Regions from separate parts of the Homo sapiens genome. Here region 2 is linked to region 1. Evidence: promoter capture Hi-C in human tissues and cell types (Jung and others, 2019). All regions are on one chromosome and are shown on one strand. Each heading gives the region's core, a stretch centred on a gene start or on the middle of the fragment in contact. The rest is flanking DNA. Distances are from core to core; before and after follow the strand shown.

Region 1 (4,841 bases), core at 2,153-4,652:
CCTCTGGGTTCAAGCGATTCTCCTGTCTCAGGCTCCCAAGTTGCTGAGATTACAGGCATGCACCACCTCGCCCGGCTAATTTTGAATTTTAGTAGAGACAGGGTTTCTCCATGTTGGTCAGGCTGGTCTCAAACTCCCAACCTCAGGTGATCTCAAACTCCCAACCTCAGGTGATCTGCCCGCCTCGGCCTCCCAAAGTGCTGGGATTACAGGCGTGAGCCGGCCAGGAAAAAATTTTATTGCTCATCTCAGAAGATTCATAAGACAGTGAGTGTGCTTTAGTAAGAGAATTTTCCTAGCACAGTACTTCAGAAAAAAAAGGACTTAGTTCTCTAAACTATGTGCAAATTAAAACTGCAGCCTTAAACTTCCTTCTCTGAAAAATCTATCGGCAATATGATTACTAAATGCAAGGATTCTGATTTGTTAGTTATAGGCTTATAAACTGCTACTATATTCCCCTGAGAGTCTTTTGCATGACAAAATTCTTAATACCTACAGACTTGAAGGTATGGCACTTAAAAAAAAAAAAAAAGTTTCCCAGGACTGATTACACTTTGAAAACTGATGTGGGTTCACGACTTCCACAACAATTTTTTCCCATAAACTCTGATACATCTACTTGGTGCCAAACACCGTTAGGCATTGAGGCTCCTAAATGTAAGCAAAAGGGGTCCTGGCCAGGCGCGGTAGCTCATGCCTGTAATCCCAGCACTTTGGGAGGCCGAGGTGGGCAGATTACGAGGTCAGGAGATCAAGACCATCCTGGCTAATACAGTGAAACCCCATCTCTAATAAAAAATAGAAAAAATTAGCCAGGCGTGGTGGCGGGCGCCTGTAAGTCCCAGCTTCTCGGGAGGCTGGGGCAGGAGAATGGCATGAACCCAGGAGGTGGAGCTTGCAGTGAGCGGAGACCATGCCACTGCACTCCAGCCTGGGCAACAGAGCGAGACTTCGTCTCAAAAAAAAAAAAAAAAAAAAAGAAAGAAAAGAAAAAGCGGTCTTCCATTTGACACAATTTTGTTTATTTATTTAATATTTTTAGAGACAGGGTCTTTTGCTCTCTCACCCAGGATGGAGCACAGTGGCATGATCATAGCTCACTGCAGCCTCGACCCCTTGGGCTCAAATGATTCTCCCACATCAGCCTCCCTAAGTAGCTAGGAGCACATGTGTGCCCCACCACACCTGGCAATTTTTTTTTTTTTTTGAGACAGTCTCGCTCTGTTGCCCAGGCAGCAATGGTGTGATCTCGCCTCACCATAACCTCCACCTCCCGGGTTCAAGAAATTCTCCTGCCTCAGCCTCCTAGTAGTTGGGATTACAGGCATATGCCAGCACGCCCCACTAATTTTGTATTTTTAGTAGAGACAGGGTTTTGCCACGTTGGCCAGGCTGGTCTGGAACTCCTGACCGCAGGTGATATGCCCACCTCGGCCTTCCAAAGTGCTGGGATTACAGGCATGAGCAACCATGCCCAGACAGCCTGGCTTATTTTTTAAGAAAAAATTTTTTAGAGATAAGGTCTATGTTGCCCAGGCTGGTCTTGAACTCCTGGGATCAAGCGATCCTCCCACCTCAGCCTCCCAAAGTGCTGGGGGCTACAGGTGTGAGCCACCACACCTGGCGTGTATTTGTGTTTATTAATATTAAAATTTTTTGAGATGGAGTCTCACTCTGTCACCCAGGCTGGAGTGCAGTGGCACAATCTTGGCTCACTGCAACCTCCGCCTGCCGGGTTCAAGCGATTCTCCTGCCTCTGCCTCCTGAGTAGCTGGGACTACAGGCGCACCCCACTAGGCCCAGACAATCTTTTTTTTTTTATTTTTTTGAGAGGGAGTCTCGCTCTGCCGCCCAGGGTCGCTCGGCCTCCCGGGTTCACGCCATTCTCCTGCCTCAGCCTCCCGAGTAGCTGGGACTACAGGCGCCCGCCACCATGCCCGGCTAATTTTTTGTATTTTTAATAGAGATGGGGTTTCACCATGCTGGCCAGGCTCGTCTCGAACTCCTGACCTCAGGTGATCCGCCCTCCTCAGCCTCCCAAAGTGCTGGTATTACAGACGTGAGCCACCATGCCCGGCCCCAGCCTGTATCTCACAAATGTTAACACACACATTAGTGGGAGACCAATCATTACAATCCATTATGATAGAGGGGACTTCCCCAAAATGAAGATTAACAGTACATACAGGCCTGGCGCGTTGGCTCATGCCTGTAATCCCAGCACTTTGGGAGGCCCAGGTGGGAAGATCACCTGAGGTCAGGAGTTCAAGACCAGCCAGGCCAATATGGTGAGACCCTGCCTCTACTAAAAAAAATACAAAAATTAGCCGGGCTTGGGGCGCGAGTCTGTAATCCCAGCTTCTAGGGAGGCTGAGGCAGGAGAATCACTTGAACCCGGGGCGGAGGTTGCAGTGAGCCGAGATCGCGCCCTTGCACTCCAGCCTGGGCGACAGAGTGAGACTCCGTCTCAAAAAAAAAAAAAAGAAAAAAAGAAAAAAACACAGTTCATAAAGTGAACGACCTTGTCAAAACACTGGTTGGAAGCAGGTCTCTTCCCTCCGCACTGTTTCCTATCATATAGCCTTAAGCATTTCCCTCAGGGTTAAAAAAAAAAAAAGTGACAAGGCTGGTTTGTTTTTTTTTTTTCTTTTTCCAGAGGGAGTCTCGCCCTGTCGCCCATGCTGGAGTGCAAAGGCGCGATCTCGGCTAACTGCAACCTCCGCCTCCGGGTTCAGCTTCCCGAGTAGCTGGGATTACAGGCGCGCGCCACCACGTCCGGCTAATTTTCTATTTTTAGTAGAGACCGGGGTTTCACCATTTTGGCCAGGCTAGTCTCGGACTCCTGACCTCAGGTGATCCGGCCGCCTCGGCCTCCCAAAATACTGGGATTACAGGCGTGAGCCACTGCCCCTGGCCACAAGGCTGTTTTCAATCCTTGCACAGATCTCTGTCCGACTAGGCACAGTGAATACCCTTGGAAAACAGGGAATGCTGAGGTGGGAGGCAAAGAGCCAGGGCGTTCAAGAAGGCAGCGCGCAGGCAAGCGGGCAGTGCCCAAGACCCGAGCAAAAGTCACATGAGCTGCGGGGCAAATCTCCGTCCTCAGGCCGACCTCTTGGATCTGGTGACTTGGAGCAAGGGACCTTCCTGCGGCATCTGGGCGGCTCAAGGCCCGCGGCCTTCCCTAGGCGGGCTCCAGCCCACTCCCCGGGACTGCCGCCGCGGCTTCGTAAGACCCAACCAAGCCCCTCACCTGCTTTTGCACGTCAGCATCGCTGAGAGCCATGGCGAGAGCAATGCTAGGCCGGTGAACAGTAGGCTCGAGTTTAGGTTTGAAAGGTGAGGTGAGAGAAATCGGCAAAGGGAACCCCTGCGCAGATCTCGGGTTCCTTTACTTTATAACCGCGGGTTCCGGTTCCTGCCAGGTGACTGCACAGTTCATCCTCATGACCCTTCTCAGCCAATGGGAAGAGAGCGACGCCCAGGAAGTCCCGCCCTGTCCCGGCCTGTGGGCGCGTCCTCGGGTCCTTCTACGTCGCTGACTCGTGACCTGACCGGTATTTTTTTCCTAAACTGGGATCTTGGGTAGGAGGAAGAAAAGATAAGGAGTTCCTCTATCTGAAATTAGTCGGGCTGTTTTGAGGAGTACTGGTTAGGTATATTGGAGAATGTGCCTTTATTGGAATTTTTCGCATAATTACACAGGGTTATGGGCTTAGGGGTACATGATTGTTGGCCGGGCGTGGTGGCTCACGCCTGCAATCCGGAGACTTTGGGAGACCAAGGCGGGTGTATCGCTTGACCTCAAGTTCGAGACCAGGCTGGACAACATAGAGGAACCCCGTCTCTACCAAAAGAAAAAAAAAAGGGGGATACATGATTTCTGACTATTCATGTCAACCTTGATTACCTGAATAAAGTGTAGGGTTTGTAGGTTTCTCCACTCTGAAGTTACCTTTTTTAACCCCCTTTCCATACTGTAGTCTTAGGAAGGAAGCCACTATACAAAGCCCACACCTAGGGAGTGGGAAGCTATGCTCAACTTCCTTATTAGGGTGGAGCAGCTACATAATTTATTTGGAACTTTTCTGAGATAGCCTATATATTTTTCAAAAGCCTTCCCAGGTCCCATTTAGAGGAATATTAGGACAGAAATCCCCCCAGGCTCATTTGTTTTTATTTGGATTTACCTCAAGCCCGTTTTTTTCCCCAAAATCCCAAAGGCAAAAACTTTTGAAAATTCCTTTATCTTTAGGATAGACTGACTCCTAATAGTAGAATAAGAGGTCAAATGGTACACCCACTTTTTTCTTTTTACTGTGCTATGGTTACCCACCATTTTTATTAGCTTTTTATCTTGAAGAAATTTGAGATATAGTAACTTGTAAGAATACTGCATTGACCTCCCTTCACCTAGATTCAACAATTGTTAACATTTTGCTACATGTACATTAACACTTTATTTTCATACACACACACACACACACACACACACACACTTCCTATTTTAGTGTGTCATAAGAACGAGGATGTAGCAAATTCAGGAAATTTAGTTTACTAGGCTGAACATTAATTTCCTTTGTCCCGGGCCAGGCGCGGTGTCTCACGCCTGTAATCCCACCACTTTGGGAGGCTGAGGTGGGCAGATCACCTGAGGTCGGGATTTCGAGACCAGCCTGACCAACATGGAGAAACCCCAGTCTCTACTAAAAATACAAAATTAACAGGCGTGGTGGTGTGTGCCTGTAATCCCAGCCACTGGAGAGGCTGAGGCAGGAGAATTGCTTCAACCCAGGAGCAGAGGTTGCGGTGAGCCAAGATCGTGCCACTGCACTCCA
Region 2 (5,308 bases), core at 1,192-3,691, 240 kb before region 1:
GCTGGGATTACAGGCATGAGCCACCGCGCCTGGCCAAGTTTTCTTCATAGTTACTTTTTGTTTTATATTTTATCATAAAAGTTACATGAATTTTGGTGCCATGCACTGTCTCAAGTGTTTCTCATGCCCGAACTGACCCATCTGTTTAATTCCCCCATGAGGCAGGCATCACCATGACAGCACTGTAGGAAACAGGCTCAGAGTGAAGCGATTTACCCAAGGCCGCATGCCCAGCGGGTGGCAGAACCCATACCGGCAGACTTCAGGAAAATGCGGAGGCATTTTTTGGTAAATGAATTGAACAGTACTGCTAGTGAGACAGGAAAACTGACATCCAGTGCGGGTTCTTGAGAGTATATGGGAAGGTGGGTGAGATTAAATTTTAGCTAGTGTCGTGGTATTAGAAAGGAATCTTTTACGCAATTTACGGAGAACACTGAGTCAGGAGACATTTTAGAAGTGAAAGCAATTCAGTTTTTTCTTCACTTGCTTAAATTACTTACAAAATATGTTAATAACTGTTAAGAGCTCCTTTTATCATTTTTCCACTCTACTGTAACTCTGGGTTGGGTTTTTTAAAAACTTTGTTTATTTTATTTTAGTATTTTTTTTTGAGGTGGAGTCTCACTCTGTCGCCCAGGCTGGAGTGCAGTGGCACGATCTCAGCTCACTGCAGCCTCAGCCTCCGGGTTCAAGCAGTTCTCCTGCTTCAGCCTCTCGAGTAGCTGGAACTACAGGCACACTCCACCATGCCCGGATAACTTTTGTATTTTTAGTAGAGACGGGGTTTCACCATGTTGGCCAGGCTGGTCTCGAACTCCCTGAATTCAAGTGATCCACCCTCCTTGGCCTCCCAAAGTGCTGGGATTACAGGTGTGAGCCACTGCGCCCGGCCTTAAAAACTTTATTTTTAAGTAATGTCAGACTTAACGGAAACTTAGAAGGCTGGTACACAGAATTCCTAAGCTCCCTACCCAGATTCCCCACGTGTTCAGTTTTACACCATGTGCTTTACTGCCATCTCCCTCTTTCTCCCCACCAAGCTATCTTCATAGTTACTTTTTGTTTTATATTTTATCATAAAAGTTACATGAATTTTGGTACCATTCTCTTCTGTCTCCCAACTGCCTGCCTGCCTGTCCGGCTAGCTAGCTAGGCATCTCTAGCTGTGTAATTACTGTTTTTCTACACTGAGAATAAGTTGAAGACGTGATACCTTTCACTCCTTGACATTTTAGTGTTTTTATGACTTAAAAACATTGTTTTTTTCTTTTGAGGTGGGGTCTCACGCTGTGTTGCCCAGGTTGGTCTTGAACTCCTGGGCTCAAGCAATCCTTCTGACTCAGCCTCCCAAGTAGCTAGGACTACAAGCATGAGCCGCCACGCCCAGCTCGGGGATATTCTTTTTTATTTATTTATTTATTTTTGAGATGGAGTCTCACTCTGTTGCCCAGGCTGGAGTTCAGTGGCACGATCTTGGCTCACTGCAACCTCCGCCTCCTGGGTTAGAGCAGTTCTCCTGCCTCAGCCTCCCAAGTAGCTGGGACTACAGGCATGCGCCACAACGCCCGGCTAATTTTTGTGTTTTTAGTAGAGACGGGGTTTTGCCATGTTAGCCAGGCTGGTCTTGAACTCCTGACCTCAGATGATCCGCCCACCTCGGCGTCCCAAAATGCTGGGATTACAGGCATGAGCCACTGTGCCTGGCCGGAATATTCTCTTATACATATAAGTACAATTATTAAAATCAGGAACTTAATACTGAGTAAGATCTGTAGATAATAGTATATCAAATGTTGCCAATTGAGCCAATAATATATATAATTTGTACATTATTTTTATGAATTTTAAATATATTATTATTTTAGAAATTGTTTCTGGTTCAGGTTTTCAGTCTAGGATCAGGCATTCCATTAGTTGTTGAGTCTCTTTAGTCTCCTTTAAAATAGAGCCGTTTTTCAGTGTTTGTCTTTCTTGAGCTTGACCTTTTTGGAAGACTAAAAGCCATTCATTCTATTGACGGTCCCTCCACTTGGGCTTGTTGGAAGTCCTCTCAGGATAACTTGGGTCATGTGTTTTTGGCGGGAGTGCTGAAGAGGGCCGTGCCCTTGGTGCATAGTATCAGCAGTTACATCACTTTCATTGTGCCCTTTATTGGTGGTGGTTACTAACTTTGATCACTTGGTTAGGGTGATGTCTGCTTTCCACTGCAAAGTTACTGTTTTTCTCTTATAATTAACAAGTACGTTGTGGGGAGATACTTTGCAAACATCCTGTTTCTTCTCCAAATTAACCCGTTAGGAATTGCCTGAATCAGTGATTACATCACAGTTGCCAGATTCCTTTTTACAAGTTGGCGTGCAGTTTTCATCCATAAAGTTTAAGCGTTTGATTCTAAACCAGGTGTTTTTATTTTGTTTTGTTTTGTTTTGTTTTTTGAGACAGGTCTTGGTCTGTTGCCGAAAGTGGAGTGCAGTGGCACCATCATAGCTCAGCAGCCTCAACCTCGCCGGTCCCAAAGTGCTTGAATGACAGGCGTGAGCCACCACTCCTGACCCAAAACCATTTGTTTTTAATATCTGATAAAAATATAATTTATAAAAAGACTTTGATTTTTTTAACTTTGAAAATTAATCTAAAGGAGATGAACACTGATAAACAATGTTCAGAAAGTGAAATTACTTTTTAAAGCTTCAGCTTTTTAAAGCTTTTCCTATTTTATTTTGAGAATTTTCAGATGTTCGGTGAAGTTCAAAGATAAGTGAACCCCTGCGTACCCTTTACTCTAGATGTACCAATTGTTAACACTTTTGCCACATTGGCTGAACCATTTGAAAGTAAGTCGACTGTGTCATGAGAGTCTACCCCTTCATAGTTTCACATGTACATGTACTTCCTATGAATAAGGACTTTCTCTTGTATGACCACAATGTTATACTCACATTTAGGAAAATTAACAGTAATTCTGTAATAACATCCAGTAAACAGTTCACACTGAAATATCCTCAGTTGTCCCCACAGTGTCTTTTATAGATGTACCACACCTCCATCCTGGTTTACACACTGGTTGGTTGGTAGGGGAATTGTTTTTAGGCAGGCTGAAGCCAACCCAGTTATCCTAGATGTAGGGAAACCGGGAAACATTGGTAAAATGATTTAAATTTCAAGCTGCAGGGCTACTAGTGAAGTAATTACAACAGAGAGTTGATTGGAATCACTCTGGCTCCGGTCCAGGCTTTGCCCAAGGTCTGGACCTGTCACTTAGCCCTGTTGAGCCTCAGCTTGTTCATCTGCATCTTGGTTGTCTCGTGTTCCATAGGGCTGTGGTGAGGTTCGAATGAGCCAAGCATGTGAGGGCCTGGCCCAAATAGATCTCAGCAACTGGTAATTATTGTTACATTTTCTTTCATTTTAGATTTTGATTATGGTAATAATATGGAAATTATAATCATTTGGGAGAAAGGAATTAACTGACAAATAAATTGAATGATCACATATTATTTTGAAATCAAAGTATAATGAAATAAAATTGTAAAAATATACCAATATAGTGTGCTTATGTGGATTAAAGTGATTGTTGAATACAGATGCTTTTGTTTGTTTGAGACGGAGTCTCACACTCTTACAGGCGGGAGTACAGTGGCGCAATCTCCGCTCACTGTAACTTCCGTCTCCCAGGTTCAAGCAATTCCCCCGTCTCAGCTTCCCGAGTAACTGGGATTACAGGCATGCGCCACCACACCCAGCTAATTTTTGTATTTTTAGTAGAGACGGGGTTTCACCATGTTAGCCAGGCTGGTCTCGAACTCTCGAACTCCCAAACTCAGGTGATCCACCTGCTTCGGCCTCCCAAAGTGCTCGGATTACAAGTGTGAGCCACCGCGTCTGGCCGAATACAAATGTTTTTTGTTTAAAAAAATAAGCGTGGCTTGGTAGCTCATGCCTGTAATCCCAGTCCTTTGGGAGGCTGAGATGGGAGGATTGCTTGAGGTTAGGACTTGGAGACCAGCCTGGGAACATAGTAAGACCGTGTCTCAACAACAAAAAAAATTTTTAATTGGCCAGGCGCAGTGGCCAGCCTGGCCAACATGGCGAAACCCTGTCTCTACTAAAAATACAAAATTACAGGCATGGTGGTGCATGCCTGTAATCCCAGCTACTCAGGAGGCTGAGGCAGGAGAATCGCTTGAACCTGGGAGGCGGAGGTTGCAGTGAGCCAAGATCGTGCCATTGCACTCCAGCCTGGGCGACAGTGAGACTCCGTCTCAAAAATAGAATAATAAAATAAAACAAAACCAGGCATGGTGTTGCATACCTGTAGTCTCAGCTACTTGGGAAGCTGGGCTGGGAAGATTGCTTGAGCCAGGGAGGTGGAAGTTGTTGAGTCAGGGAGATGGAGGTTGCAGTGAGCCGAAATTATACCACTGCACTCCAGCCTGAGTGACAGAGCAAGACCTTGTCTCAAAGAAAAAAAAAAACAGCTTTATTGAGATATTATTTACATACTATACAACTCATTCATTTAAAGTGTTCAACAAGTAGGCCGGGCACGGTGGCTCACACCTGTAGTCCCAGCACTTTGGGAGGCCGAGGTGGGCAGATCACAAGGTCAGGAGTTCAAGACCAGCCTGGCCAACATGGTGAAACCCCGTCTCTACTAAAAATACAAAAATTAGCCAGGTGTGGTGACACCCGCCTGTAATTCCAGCTACTCGTGAGGCTGAGGCAGGAGAATGGCTTGAGCCCAGAAGGTGGAGGTTGCAGTCAGTTGAGATCACGCCACTGCACTGCAGCCTGGGTGACAGAGTGAGACTCTGTCTCAGAAAATAGTGTTCCAGTTAGTGGGTTTTAGTATATTTACAAATAGTTACAACTGTTGCCACCGTAACCATACCTTTATAAGGTTTTCATCACCTCAAAAAGAAACCCTGTACCCTTGAGCTCCCTGCCTCCCCAGCTCTCCCTACCTCTTGTTTCCCCAGCCTAAGCAAATTACTCTCTGCTTTTATAGATTTTCCTTTTTGGGCCTTCATAATGAGTAGAATCATGTAGTATGTGCCCCTTTGTGATTGGATTTTTCATTTAGCATAATGTTTTTAGGTTTCATCCAAGTTGTAGAAAGTATCAGTATATAATTCCTTTTTATAGCTATATTTAAAGCTATACATTGTATATAATAATTTTTATTTTATTTACCCATTGGTGGACATTTAGGTTATTTCCCCCTTTTGGCTATTATAAATAATGCTGCTCTAAACATTTGTGTGCAGGTTTTTGTGAGGACATGTGTTTTCAGTTCTGTTAGGTA

Evidence for each region. Contacts are between HindIII fragments. The study calls those that stand out against the background at their distance.
Region 2: a contact is called between a fragment that was not itself captured here and the fragment with the promoter of ATP6V1E1 in region 1, in 1 of the 25 tissues and cell types used here (H1 embryonic stem cells).

What each region holds. Positions count from the first base shown.
Region 1 is chr22:17,625,347-17,630,187 of GRCh38, forward strand. ATP6V1E1 (ATPase H+ transporting V1 subunit E1) reads right to left here and starts at 3,403. Exons shown (of 9, transcript NM_001696.4): 1 at 3,257-3,403. The coding sequence starts at 3,289. It also overlaps a transcript of BCL2L13 not described here. RefSeq lists enhancers at 3,098-3,247, 3,328-3,417, 3,359-3,528. The HindIII fragment of the contact is 10,651 bases long and covers 1-4,841 here.
Region 2 is chr22:17,388,219-17,393,526 of GRCh38, forward strand. All of the region lies in intron 1 of CECR2 (CECR2 histone acetyl-lysine reader), which reads left to right. Among named protein-coding and RNA genes, the nearest start is that of CECR2, 21 kb to the left of the region's middle. The HindIII fragment of the contact is 4,080 bases long and covers 402-4,481 here.